Regions from separate parts of the Homo sapiens genome. Here all the other regions are linked to region 2. Evidence: promoter capture Hi-C in 16 types of primary human blood cells and fetal thymus (Javierre and others, 2016). All regions are on one chromosome and are shown on one strand. The core of a region is centred on a gene start or on the middle of the fragment in contact, and the rest is flanking DNA. Distances in the headings are between cores, read along the strand shown.

Region 1 (3,693 bases), core at 235-2,734, 210 kb before region 2:
GTGATTCTCCCGCCTCAGCCTCCCGAGTAACTGAGATTACAGGTGCACGCCACCACGCCCAGCTAATTTTTGTATTTTTAGTAGAGAGGAGGTTACTCCACGTTCGTCAGGCTGGTCTCGAACTCCCGACCTCCAGGTGATCTGCCTGCCTCGGCCTCCCAAAGTGTTGGGATTACAGGCGTGAGCCACCACGCCCGGCCTTAATTTAATTTAATATTATTTTTAGGGACAGGGTCTTGCTCTGTCACCCAGGCTGGAATGCAGTGGCACGATAATAGCTCACTACAACTTCGAACTCCTGGGCTCAAGTAATTCTCCAGCCTTGGCCTCCCAAAGCACTGGGATTACAGACATGAGCCACCTGGCCTAGCCCTTTTTGTAAAGGGAGGTCCGAGAGCTGCTTCACGAGCCCCTTTCCAATCACAAAACTTCACCAGCCAAAATGGGAAAAATCTGTGAGATACAAGGTGCAGCACCCCCCCACACACCCTGTATTTCTGCACTGGATCCTAGAAGCTAGTCAAGGTGTGTGATATGGCAGAGGACTCTGAGGAGCTCACTTACAAATCAATCATCTCCATCAACCAATCACTATACAAACAACTCTTTCTTCAAAGACAGTTTGCTCATTTTGGTGTAGGGCCTTGAAAACACACTGTACATCCTCCACTTGTCAACGATTTGTACTACAATGATCTGAGATTTTACTGCTACAGAATTAGCAGTAAAAATAAGATAAAGCCTTAAAATTATGTCCCTTTTTGGTTCCAGAGTCTTACACTTCCCCCACGGAAAAGAAAACAAGACTCAACATGTTATAGTTGAAGTGATCTATATGACCATTAAGAACGAAAATAAAAAGCAGCAGCCCCTGCCACCTGGAAGCTGGCCTGGCAATCACAGCAAGGCCATGCTGCTCTCCTGATGGACATAAACCACCTTGGAGAACACCAGCCTCAGGCAAGGGCCCTCTGAGACCACGATCAAGTGAGACACAGCAAGCACAGAAAAAACAAGGTTACTGCGCAACTCACAAAATACCAACACGCCTCTCTTTCAGCTAAAATGAGTGACTGCTACTTCTTTACCCATTATAGCTTTAATCTCACTCTAGTCTTCCCTCCCTAATAGATGAAATTTATTGAGATACGCAATCATAAAAATTACCCCCACTTGCTGCCAACATCCAATCTACAGCAAACCCCTGCTTCCTTAGACTACCCCCTAAATCATCCAACCAAAGCCCAAATCCTATAAAAGGCTCTAACACCTTCTTACTGAGACACTCCCCAGTTCCCCATGGCGTGTGTTCTCTCCCACTGCAACAGTAAACCCACCTTCTTCAACTGCAAGTGTGTTCCTGGTGGTCTTTGGCTGGAAGGGATTGACAACATCTAACTATTGCGTTCTCTTTACTCCCCGACTCCACACCACAACACACACACACACACCCTAGGAGCTCCGCACTGCACATTGTTAAAGAGAACTGTACCAGAAAACCAGGAAGATTAAAATGCAGATCATTTCTGAGACCTGCTGAAAACACTAAACAGCAAACAAAACCGCAAACAACATGCTAAATAAGGCCTCTCAAAAGTACTACAACAAGGCTGGGTACAGTGGCTCATGCCTATAATCCAAGCACTTTGAGAGGCCAAGGCAGGAGGATCACTTGAGGCCAGGAGCTCAAGACCAGCCTGAACAACATGGTGGGACCCCCTTCTCTACAAATATTTTTTTAAGTACTACAACAACATAAAATGCAGAAAAGGGCGACACTGCAAGGCAAATATTCCATCAAAAAGAGCCAAGGGGTAAGTGACAAAGTAAGAGACAGATAAAAGCATCATTAATATCCCATAATTGTAATAATTTCTAACCAAAATCATTTATACTGCTTACACTATATGTTCAAATAATTACTTTGACAAGATTACAAGGGAAAAGGTAGGGTTGGTAATAGAACAAAGATCCTTTCAAATAAAAGAATTTCAGTTATTTCTTTTTAAATAGAAAGGTCTTAACTTTCAGATGTCCTTCTACCTACTGAAATGACCAAGTAGACACTATTTCTGTAATAAAATAGAAGCCTAGGCAAAGCTAATATTTGGCATTCACAAATTTTACCTCCAGAAACAGTTTTTGCTTTTCTTTGTTTCTTTTTTTTTTTTTTTTGAGACCGATTTTTGCTCTTGTTGTCCAGGCTGGAGTGCAATGGCGCGATCTCTGCTCACCGCAACCTCCACCTCCTGGGTTCAAGAGATTCTCCTCAGCCTTCCTGAGGAGCTGGGATTACAGGCATGCGCCACCACGCCCAGCTAATTTTTTGTATTTTTAATAGAGATGGGGTTTCTCCATGTTGGTCAGGCTAGTCTTCGAACTCCCAACCTCAGGTGATCTGCCTGCCTCGGCCTCCCAAAGTGCTGGGATTACAGGCATGAGTCACTGCGCCCGGCCCAGTTTTTGCTTTTCAAAGTAAGTGATACTGCATTTCACACAAAACATTAAGTCTACTGCATACATAATCCTTTTATTTGCCAAATGAAGGCAATATAAGAAGATTCTATATTTTTCAAGATAACTAGAAGGCTTTAAGCACCCAAGACTCCCTGATTTCAAGGAAGTAAAATTCTATTAATTATCAGCTCCTCTATCATTGATGTGTTTCACAGGAGGAAAACCCCCGAGCCTGTGTCGTCGGATGACCGGAAGCACCACTGCAGCAGGCCCTCAGGCAAGGGGGCCACACAGCCTTCCTGGGAAACATGCACAGTGCTGTTGTGCGTTCCTAGTCGCATGAAGACAAAGGCCTGGGCATTTTCTTCCTCTCGGTGTGTCTGGCGCTGTGGGTGATGTTACCAAGAAGCTCTGGTGCTCAGGGGCCTCTTACTAGGGCACACTAAACATAACTTTTGCTAAAACTTTTGGAATTAAGTGGAATACTATTGAGGAGCACTTCGCCATGAGCTTAGTGACACTTGTTCAATATTTAAGGTAACAAAGCAGTTAAAATGAGGTAAGATTCCTTTCTAACAATCCCATCGGGTTTACCTTTCAGAGCTATCACCTTAGAGGCTGGATTCATGATGGCACTCTCTGCAGAGATAGGCCGTCGGATCGGAGCCATTGGGTCACTCATGTCAATGATCGTGACCTGTGCCTGCTCACCAACTTTCTCTCGGATACATATGAACTTGTCAGATTCCATGGTCAGTGTGCTGAATCCAATGTTAGCTGGATTAATTCCAAGGTTTTGGAGCTAAACAGAAAAAAAGCATTTGATTAAATTTTTTTCCTCTGAAATGGACTGACTGTAGCCAAAGGCAAAAGAGGAGAAGTTAAATAAAATTTAGAAAAAAGTTAACATTAGGTAAACACTTGAAGGAAACATTAGCTTGCTTTTCTACGCCTGTAATAGATCCACCCAAGCCTGTGAATCAACTCTCCTTGAGAGATTACCAGCCCACAGTGGAGATAAGACATGTGCAGGATGACACTAGGCAGTGTCAAGGACGCCACAAGTGATACAGACAGGAGGAGATGAGTTGGGGGTGAACTCCCAAAGAACACCATCAGATAAGGTGTCACAGATAAGCCCACCACCGAGGAGAGCTTTGGGAGGAAGGAGGTCTTGGAGAGGTGAAGGCGAGGGAAGTGGAAGGGAAAAAGGGAGGAAACACAAAACCTGATTTC
Region 2 (3,751 bases), core at 321-2,820:
AGACAATACCGTAGAGTGCTTTGCAGCCAGACAGACTTGGCTTCAACTCTCCAGTCCCTACTTCTGTGACTCGAATAAAGTACCTCTGTAAACGTTAGTTTTCTCATGTTTAAAATCATCATCATCCTTGCTTCCAAAGGGATTGTAGGGATTAAAAGAAATAAGCCGCGATGAGGGAGTACAGGTGTTAAAAGCTGTGTAACAGGAAATGTACCAGCAGGTATTAGCTTCCATCGTTATCATTACCGAACACAACACCGCTGTACAGATTCGAAGGCACGAACCCGTAGGCACGGAGCTCACGGAGCTGGGGCAAGAGCTGGGTGTCCCCCAAGAGCGGGGGATGCCCACTACGGATTCTCCCTGGGGAGCGCCCTGATTCTGTTCCCATCCCCAGCAACCTTGCAACTAACTTTGGGTTTATGGAAACCTGTTGCGCGTCCAGCACTTGGGAAACCCGTGAATGGACACAAACCTTCCTTTCTTTCGTCAAGGAGGGCAAGTCCGGCTGAGACAGAATGCGAGCCACGTTCAGGACCGGCGGACGCGACCACAGGCGGTTAGTGGTCAAGGGTCCTGCTTGTGCCCGGTGCGGCCGATGAGCCTGCAGGCCGGACTCAGGCCCGGGTGACTCGGCACCTCCGCCGCCGTCCCGCCCCGCCCTGCCCCGCCGGGCCCTACCTCAGGCCCCGGGCCAAGGCCCAGCCCCCGCCCGCTGCCCGTCAGCGCTTACCATGATGGACACCACCTGGCAGACTCCGCTCCTCTCAGGCAATGCAACGAAGAAACCCCGCCGACCGCTCTCCCAGCCGCCGCTGCCGCTGCCGCCGCGCCAAGCCGGTACGCCCCAGAGGCTCACCGGAAGTGCCGGACCCGAGACCCGGAGGGGGGGTGCCCGGGACAAAGCGTCGGCTGCAAAAGAGAAAAGGCCAGGCGAAGACGCTAGGCTCTAAAACACCCTCAGTAGAAGCATTAAAATGCCCTTTCGTGATTTATTTCCCCTTTTATAGGTATTTTTAAACGTTATTTTAAATTACGTGTTGACAGTATTCCCCTCCAGACGAATTTAGTAGGGCCCATTGTCCTTACGACTACACTACCCACAATGCACTACCCAGACTGCCTCTGCTTCAGCCATCGAGGACTCGGGCGGAACTAAGCTACAAATCCTTCTTCAAACCACACCAAAAACCTATTGCAAACGTAAATGCTGCCCCATTGGGTATGTGACTGAGTTTAATGTATGGTTAGAAGTATACTTTCCCTGAGGGTTCCCAGTGGGAGGCAGTAGGCTTCTCTTCCCAAAGTAAAGATGTCCGCCCAGCGTCGCTTTTCTGGGTAAAAGCGAGTCAGAGTTGAAGGGGGCAACAGTGTTTGCGTTCGGCCTCAGAGGTGACGCTTCTTTGGGGGCGGGCTGGAGTTTTCTGGCCGTGAATGGCAGAGCGCTAATGGCCGCCTCCAATGTGGCCCAATCAGAAAGAAAGGAAGGCTGGGAACTAAGAAGCTATTGGTTGGTGATCCCTGGACCAATCGGAGGAGCCGTGATTTGGCGGGAGTCTTGACCGCCGCCGGGCTCTTGGTACCTCAGCGCGAGCGCCAGGCGTCCGGCCGCCGTGGCTATGTTCGTGTCCGATTTCCGCAAAGAGTTCTACGAGGTGGTCCAGAGCCAGGTGACGCCCAGTCCGGGACCCCCGCCGAGGCCTTGCCGGTGGGGAAGGGATGAGGGGGAGCGACCGTGGGTGACCGGGAGGCAGGGGAGGGCCGGGGTTCGGGTCGCCGTGTTCAGCCGGTCTGCTCTTCCCCGATAGAGGGTCCTTCTCTTCGTGGCCTCGGACGTGGATGCTCTGTGTGCGTGCAAGATCCTTCAGGTGAGTTCTGCGGACCCTAGGAGGGCGGGGCCGGCGCGCGAGGTGAGGGTGCTGCGTGGGGGCGCAGGGCGGGCAGAGTGTCAGGATGGGTGCTGAGGGCTTAGGGTGGGAGAGGGAGCAGGGCAGGAGGTGAACAGCAAGTGAGAGGAGAGAGACTCGGAGGAGAGGTTGCCTCCCTGTCCCAACGGTGTGGGGTGGGATAAAGGATTAAGTAAAAGGTAAAGAGACTAGTTTGTATTTTTGCAATAAGCTATTAATATTAATAGGTGAACACAGCAGTTGCATTTGGGGGAAACTTTGGATCTGTCGTGGCCTCTCAAATGGGGGATTTGAGAGAGAGGAATCTGTGACAACTGTGGGTATAGTCGTGTCACAGGTGTTGCTGGGAATATGGGAGCCCCTAGTCTATTAGGGAAGATCGTTAGTTTGGTTTTGAATAGGGCATAGTATTTACGTTGTTTTGGTCAGGCCCTTGGATCAGGAACTTTTCAGAAGGCCTGGAAGTTAAATCGGCATTTCTCCCCGATGTTTTACTTTGGTAATTTGCAAAATTCACAGAATGGTATGGTAAACGCTCATATCCCTAGCACCTAGCTTTTCCCGTAAGCATTTCACTAGCTTTAATGTTATCCCGTGTCTTTTGTCTCTCAACCCGTCTAATCTTCCTCAGTTTCTTTTCAAGGTAAATTGCTAATGTCCTAAATAAGATAGGCTTTGAAAACACTCTCTCTCCAGGCCTTGTTCCAGTGTGACCACGTGCAATATACGCTGGTTCCAGTTTCTGGGTGGCAAGAACTTGAAACTGCATTTCTTGAGCATAAAGAACAGGTATTGAAGATGCGTTTTAGAATAACGTGGCTTTTTACTCAATTGTAATTTCTTGACACAGCATTCTATTTCCACGATAGATTAAGCGTGTATTTAAGTATCAGCTACATTAGGCAATATGGAAGAGAAAAACATGCTGTATTTACTGGTGACTTACCACGCCCAAGTTGTAGAAGCAAAATTGACAGCAAAAAAAGATAATGAATGTGGATAGCCCCAACTTTGAACTTGTTTTAACTTGTTTTGCAGAAATTTGATTGTAAGGTGCTTGGAATCTAGCAGTTTTTAATATGGTCTAGTTAAAATTATTTTATTTTATTTTGGTTTATTTTTTTATTTTTTATTTTTTTTGAAACGGAGTCTCGCTGTGTCGCCCAGGCTGGAGTGCAGTGGCACGATCTCGGCTCACTGCAAGCTGTGTCTCCTGGGTTCATGCCATTCTTCTGCCTCAGCCTCCTGAGTAGCTGGGACTACAGGCACCCGCCACCACACCTGGCTAATGTTTTTGTATTTTTAGTAGAGACGGAGTTTCACCATGTTAGTCAGGATGGTCTTGATCTCCTGACTTTGTGATCTGCCCACCTCCGAAAGTGCTGGGATTACAGGTATGAGCCACCACGCCCAGCCTTTATTTATTTATTTTTGAGACGGAACCTCGCTTTGTCACTCAGGCTGGAGTGTCATGGTGCAATCTTGGCTCACTGCAACCTCCGCCTTCTGGGTTCAAGCGATTCTCCTGCCTCAGCCTCCTAACTAGCTGGGATTACAAGTGCCCACCACCACGCCTGGCTAATTTTTGTATTTCTAGTAGAGACGGGGTTTCGCCACATTGGCCAGGCTGGTCTCGAACTCCTGACCTCAAGTGATCCGCCTGCCTCAGCCTCCCAAAGTGCTGGAATTAGTTAAAATTATTTTAGAATACACTACTATTTTATGTTATTTCTCTGAGAAAATGCATCCTGGTTTCCAACTTAAAATCCAGGAATAAATTTAAACAATAGATGCCAGGATTCCTCCCACCTCTGCATGGGGCCAAATGAGAGATGGGACATTGT
Region 3 (3,718 bases), core at 892-3,391, 230 kb before region 2:
CAAGAGTTTTTATTTTGTTGTTGTTGTTGTCATTTGTTTTGTTTTGTTTTGTTTTTGAGGCAGAGTTCCACTCTTGTTGCCCAGGCTGGAGTGCAATGGTGTGATCTCGGCTCACTGCAACCTCTGCATCCTGGGTTCAGGCGATTCTCCCGCCTCAGCCTCCCAAGTAGCTGGGATTACAGGCACATGCCACAACTCTCGGCTAATTTTTGTATTTTTAGTAAAGACGGGGTTTCACCACATTGGCCAGGCTGGTCTCGAACTCCTGACTTCAGGTGATCCTCCTGCCTTGGCCTCCCAAAGTGCTGGGATTAAAGGTGTGAGTCACCGTGCCTGGCCCCCAAGGGTATTTTTAAAAGCTTAATTGAGATATAATTCACATACCATAGAACTTATCTATTTAAAGCAAGCTTGTCCAACATGTGGCCCAGTATAGCCTTGTATGTGGCCCAAACACAAATTCATAAACTTTCTTAAAGCATTATGAACTTTTGGCTGGGCATGGTGGCTCACACCTGTAATCCCAGCACTTTGGGAGGCCGAGGCAGGCAGATCACCTGAGGTCAGGAGTTCGAGACCAGACTGACCAACATGGAGAAACCCCATCACTACTAAAAATACAAAATTAGCCAGGTGTGGTGGTGCATGCCTGTAGTCCCAGTTATTCAGGAAGGCTGAGGCAGTAGAATCGCTTGAACCCGGGAGGCGGAGGTTGCGGTGAGCCAAGACCATGCCACTGCACTCCAGCCTGGGCAACAAGAGCAAAACTCGGTCTCAAAAAAAAAAAATTATGAATTTTTTTGCAATTTTTGTTTTTAGCTCATCAGCTATTGCTAGTGTATTTTATGTGTGACCCAAGACAATTCTTCTTCCAGTGTGGCCCAGGGGATCCAAAAGATCAGACACCCCTGGTTTAAAGCATACCATCCAATGTTTCTTCGTATACTCAGAGGGCTGTGCAATCATCACTACAACATAGTTTTAGAACACTTTCATCCTTTGAAAGAAACCCTATTAGCATTCAATCCTCATTCCTATCTCCCAGACTCCACCTCCAGTCATAGGCAACTACTTATCTATTTTCTGTGTCTATAGGTCAGACTATCCTGAACATTTCAAATAAATGGAATCATATAGTATGTGGTCTTTTGTGACTGGCATCTTTCACTTAGCTTAATATTTCCAAGGTTCATTCATGATGTATTTTTAGTAGAGATGGGGTTTCGCCATGTTGGCCAGGCTGGTCTTGAAATCCTGACCACAGGGTGATCTGCCTGCCTCAGCCTCCCTCCCAAAGTGCTGGGATTACAGGCATGAGCCACTGTGCCTGGCCCTTCTAAGAGTTTTATAGGTTCAGTTCTTACATTTAGGTCTGATCGATTTTGAGTTTTTTAGTATTATGAGACAGAGGTCCCATTTAATGCTTCTGCATATAAATGTCCAGCGCCCCAAGACCTTGTATTGAACAACTCCTCTTTTTTTCACTGAACTGTCTTGGCAACCTTGTCAAAAATCAATTGACCACAAGGGATACAACACTTTGATTAGACTGGAGGAATAAGTTCAAATGATCATGCCTATAATCCCAGCACTCTGGGAGGCCGAAGCGGGCGGATTACTTGAGGTCAGGAGTTTGAGACCATCCTGGCTAACATGGTGAAACCCCATCTCTACTAAAAATACAAAAATTAGCAGTGCGTGGTGGCACGTGCCTATAATCCCAGCTACTCGGGAAGCTGAGGCAGGAGGATTGCTTGAACCCGGGAGGTGGAGGTTGCAGTGAGCCGAGATTGTGCCACTGCACTCCAGCCTCAGCGACAGAGCAAGACCCTGTCTCAAAAAATAAAAAAAATTAAAATTAAGAAATTAAAATTAATGAATTTTTAAAATATATATTTGCACTCTACTGATATTATTTTGATTCAGAGAAATATGTTCATAACTTATTAGAAATAACCTTGAGTAGTTTGAGACCAGCCTGGCCAACACGGTGAAACCCTGTCTCTACTAAAAACACAAAAAAAATTAGCCAGGCATGGTGGTGCACATCTATAATCCCAGCTACCTGGAAGGCTGAGATAGGAGAATCACTTGAACCCAGGAGGTGGAGGTTGCAGTGAGCCGAGATCGCACCATTGCACTCCAGCCTGGACAACAGAGCAAGGCTCTGTCTCAAAAGAAAAGAAAAAAAAAGAAATAACCTTGAGTAAATTTAAATTTATTTCTAAGTTGATGGTATGGCTAGGTTTTGATAATTTTTATTTGGTTTCCCTTCCCTTTAATCAGAAAATTAACTTTCATACCCTGTTCACAAACCATCAAAGCTGATTTTGAAACTTAAAAAAAAAATCGCCAGGTACCATGCAAAAGCAATCTTCCCTTTAGAATGACTGATGGTATGCTAAGGTTTTTCGTGGCATATTATTATTAAAGGTGAATACAAATAAATGGGCCGGGCGCGGTGGCTCACACCTGTAATCCCAGAACTTTGGGAGGCCGAGGTGGGCAGATCACTTGAGGTCAGGAGTTCAAGACCAGCCTGGCCAACATGATGAAACACTGTCTCTACTAAAAACGCAAAAATTAGCTGAGCATAGTGGCACACACCTGTAGTCCCAGCTACTCGGGTGGCTGAGGCAGGAGAATCACTTGAATCTGGAAGGTGGAGGTTGCAGTGAGCTGAGTTCGTGCCACTGCACTCCAGCCTGGGTGACAGAGTGAGACTCTGTCTCAGAAAAACAAAAAAAGAAAAGAAAGGAAAACAAAACCTGTTTTTTGGGCACATCACTTTTCTGGGACTCATCTGTTCTTTTTTTTTTTTTTTTTTTAATTTTAGAGACAGGGTCTTGTTCTATTGCCCAGGCTGGAATGCAAAGACATGATCATGGCTCACTGTAACCTTGAACTCCTGGGCTCAAGCAATTCTCCTGCCTGAGCCTCCCACGTAGCCAGGACTACAGGTGCATGCCACCACACCAAGCTAATTTGTTTGTCATCTATTCTCAAGTTAGTACCACATTCTATTTTTTTTAACTTTTTTAATTTTTTTTTAGACAAGGTCTCACTCTGTCACCCAGGCTGGAGTGTAGTGGTGCAATCTCAGTTCACTGTAACCTCCACCTCCCAGGCTCAAGCAATTCTCCCACCTCAGCCTCCAGAGTAGCTGGAACTACAGGTGCATGCCATCATGCCTGGCTAGTTTTTGCATTTTTTGTAAAAAATGGGTTTTGCCATGTTGCCTAGGCTGGTCTCGAACTCCTGGGCTCAGGTTATCCACCTTCCTCAACCTCCCAAAGTGCTGGGATTACAGGCATGAGTCACTGAGCCCAGCTAGTACCACATTCTGGATCACTGTAGGTTTGTGGCAAGTTTTAAAATTGGGAAGTATAAGTACTCCAACTTTTTATTTGTTTTATGGTTGTTTTGGCTATTCTGGGTTCCTTGCAATTCCACATAAATTTTAGGATCATCTTGCCAACTTCTACAAAGAAGCTAGCTGGTATTCCAATAGAGATTATGTTGAATTTGTAGACCAATTTGAGGAGTACTTCCATCCTAAAAGTATTAAATCTTCGAGTCCATGAACATGCAATATTTTTCGATTTAGATCTTCTTTAATTACTTCCAAACATGTTTTGTAGTTTTCAGAATGTAACTTTTGCACTTTTTAAATTAAATTTACCTCTAAGTATTTTATTCTTTTTGATGTTATTATTAA

Evidence for each region. The method cuts DNA at HindIII sites, captures the fragments that hold promoters and counts their contacts. A CHiCAGO score of 5 or more calls a contact.
Region 1: a contact is called between a fragment that was not itself captured here and the fragment with the promoter of CDC45 in region 2, in 2 of 17 cell types (total B cells and naive B cells). The highest score is 6.7, in total B cells.
Region 3: a fragment that was not itself captured here is called in contact with the fragment with the promoter of CDC45 in region 2 in 1 of 17 cell types (total B cells); the score reaches 5.2 in total B cells.

What each region holds. Positions count from the first base shown.
Region 1 is chr22:19,272,572-19,276,264 of GRCh38, forward strand. CLTCL1 (clathrin heavy chain like 1) reads right to left here. Exons shown (of 33, transcript NM_007098.4): 2 at 3,052-3,259. Among named protein-coding and RNA genes, the nearest start is that of CLTCL1, 17 kb to the right of the region's middle. RefSeq lists enhancers at 2,225-2,726, 2,727-3,226. The HindIII fragment of the contact is 4,962 bases long and covers 1-3,693 here.
Region 2 is chr22:19,478,350-19,482,100 of GRCh38, forward strand. It overlaps CDC45 (cell division cycle 45), which reads left to right and starts at 1,571. Exons shown (of 19, transcript NM_003504.5): 1 at 1,571-1,670; 2 at 1,809-1,868; 3 at 2,604-2,696. The coding sequence starts at 1,620. It overlaps UFD1 (ubiquitin recognition factor in ER associated degradation 1), which reads right to left and starts at 844. Exons shown (of 12, transcript NM_005659.7): 1 at 734-844. The coding sequence starts at 736. RefSeq lists silencers at 611-680, 1,471-1,520 and an enhancer at 1,081-1,380. The HindIII fragment of the contact is 12,348 bases long and covers 1-3,751 here.
Region 3 is chr22:19,247,522-19,251,239 of GRCh38, forward strand. All of the region lies in intron 3 of CLTCL1 (clathrin heavy chain like 1), which reads right to left. LOC124900485 (small nucleolar RNA SNORA15) reads left to right here and starts at 2,319; the gene lies at 2,319-2,445. The HindIII fragment of the contact is 3,467 bases long and covers 409-3,718 here.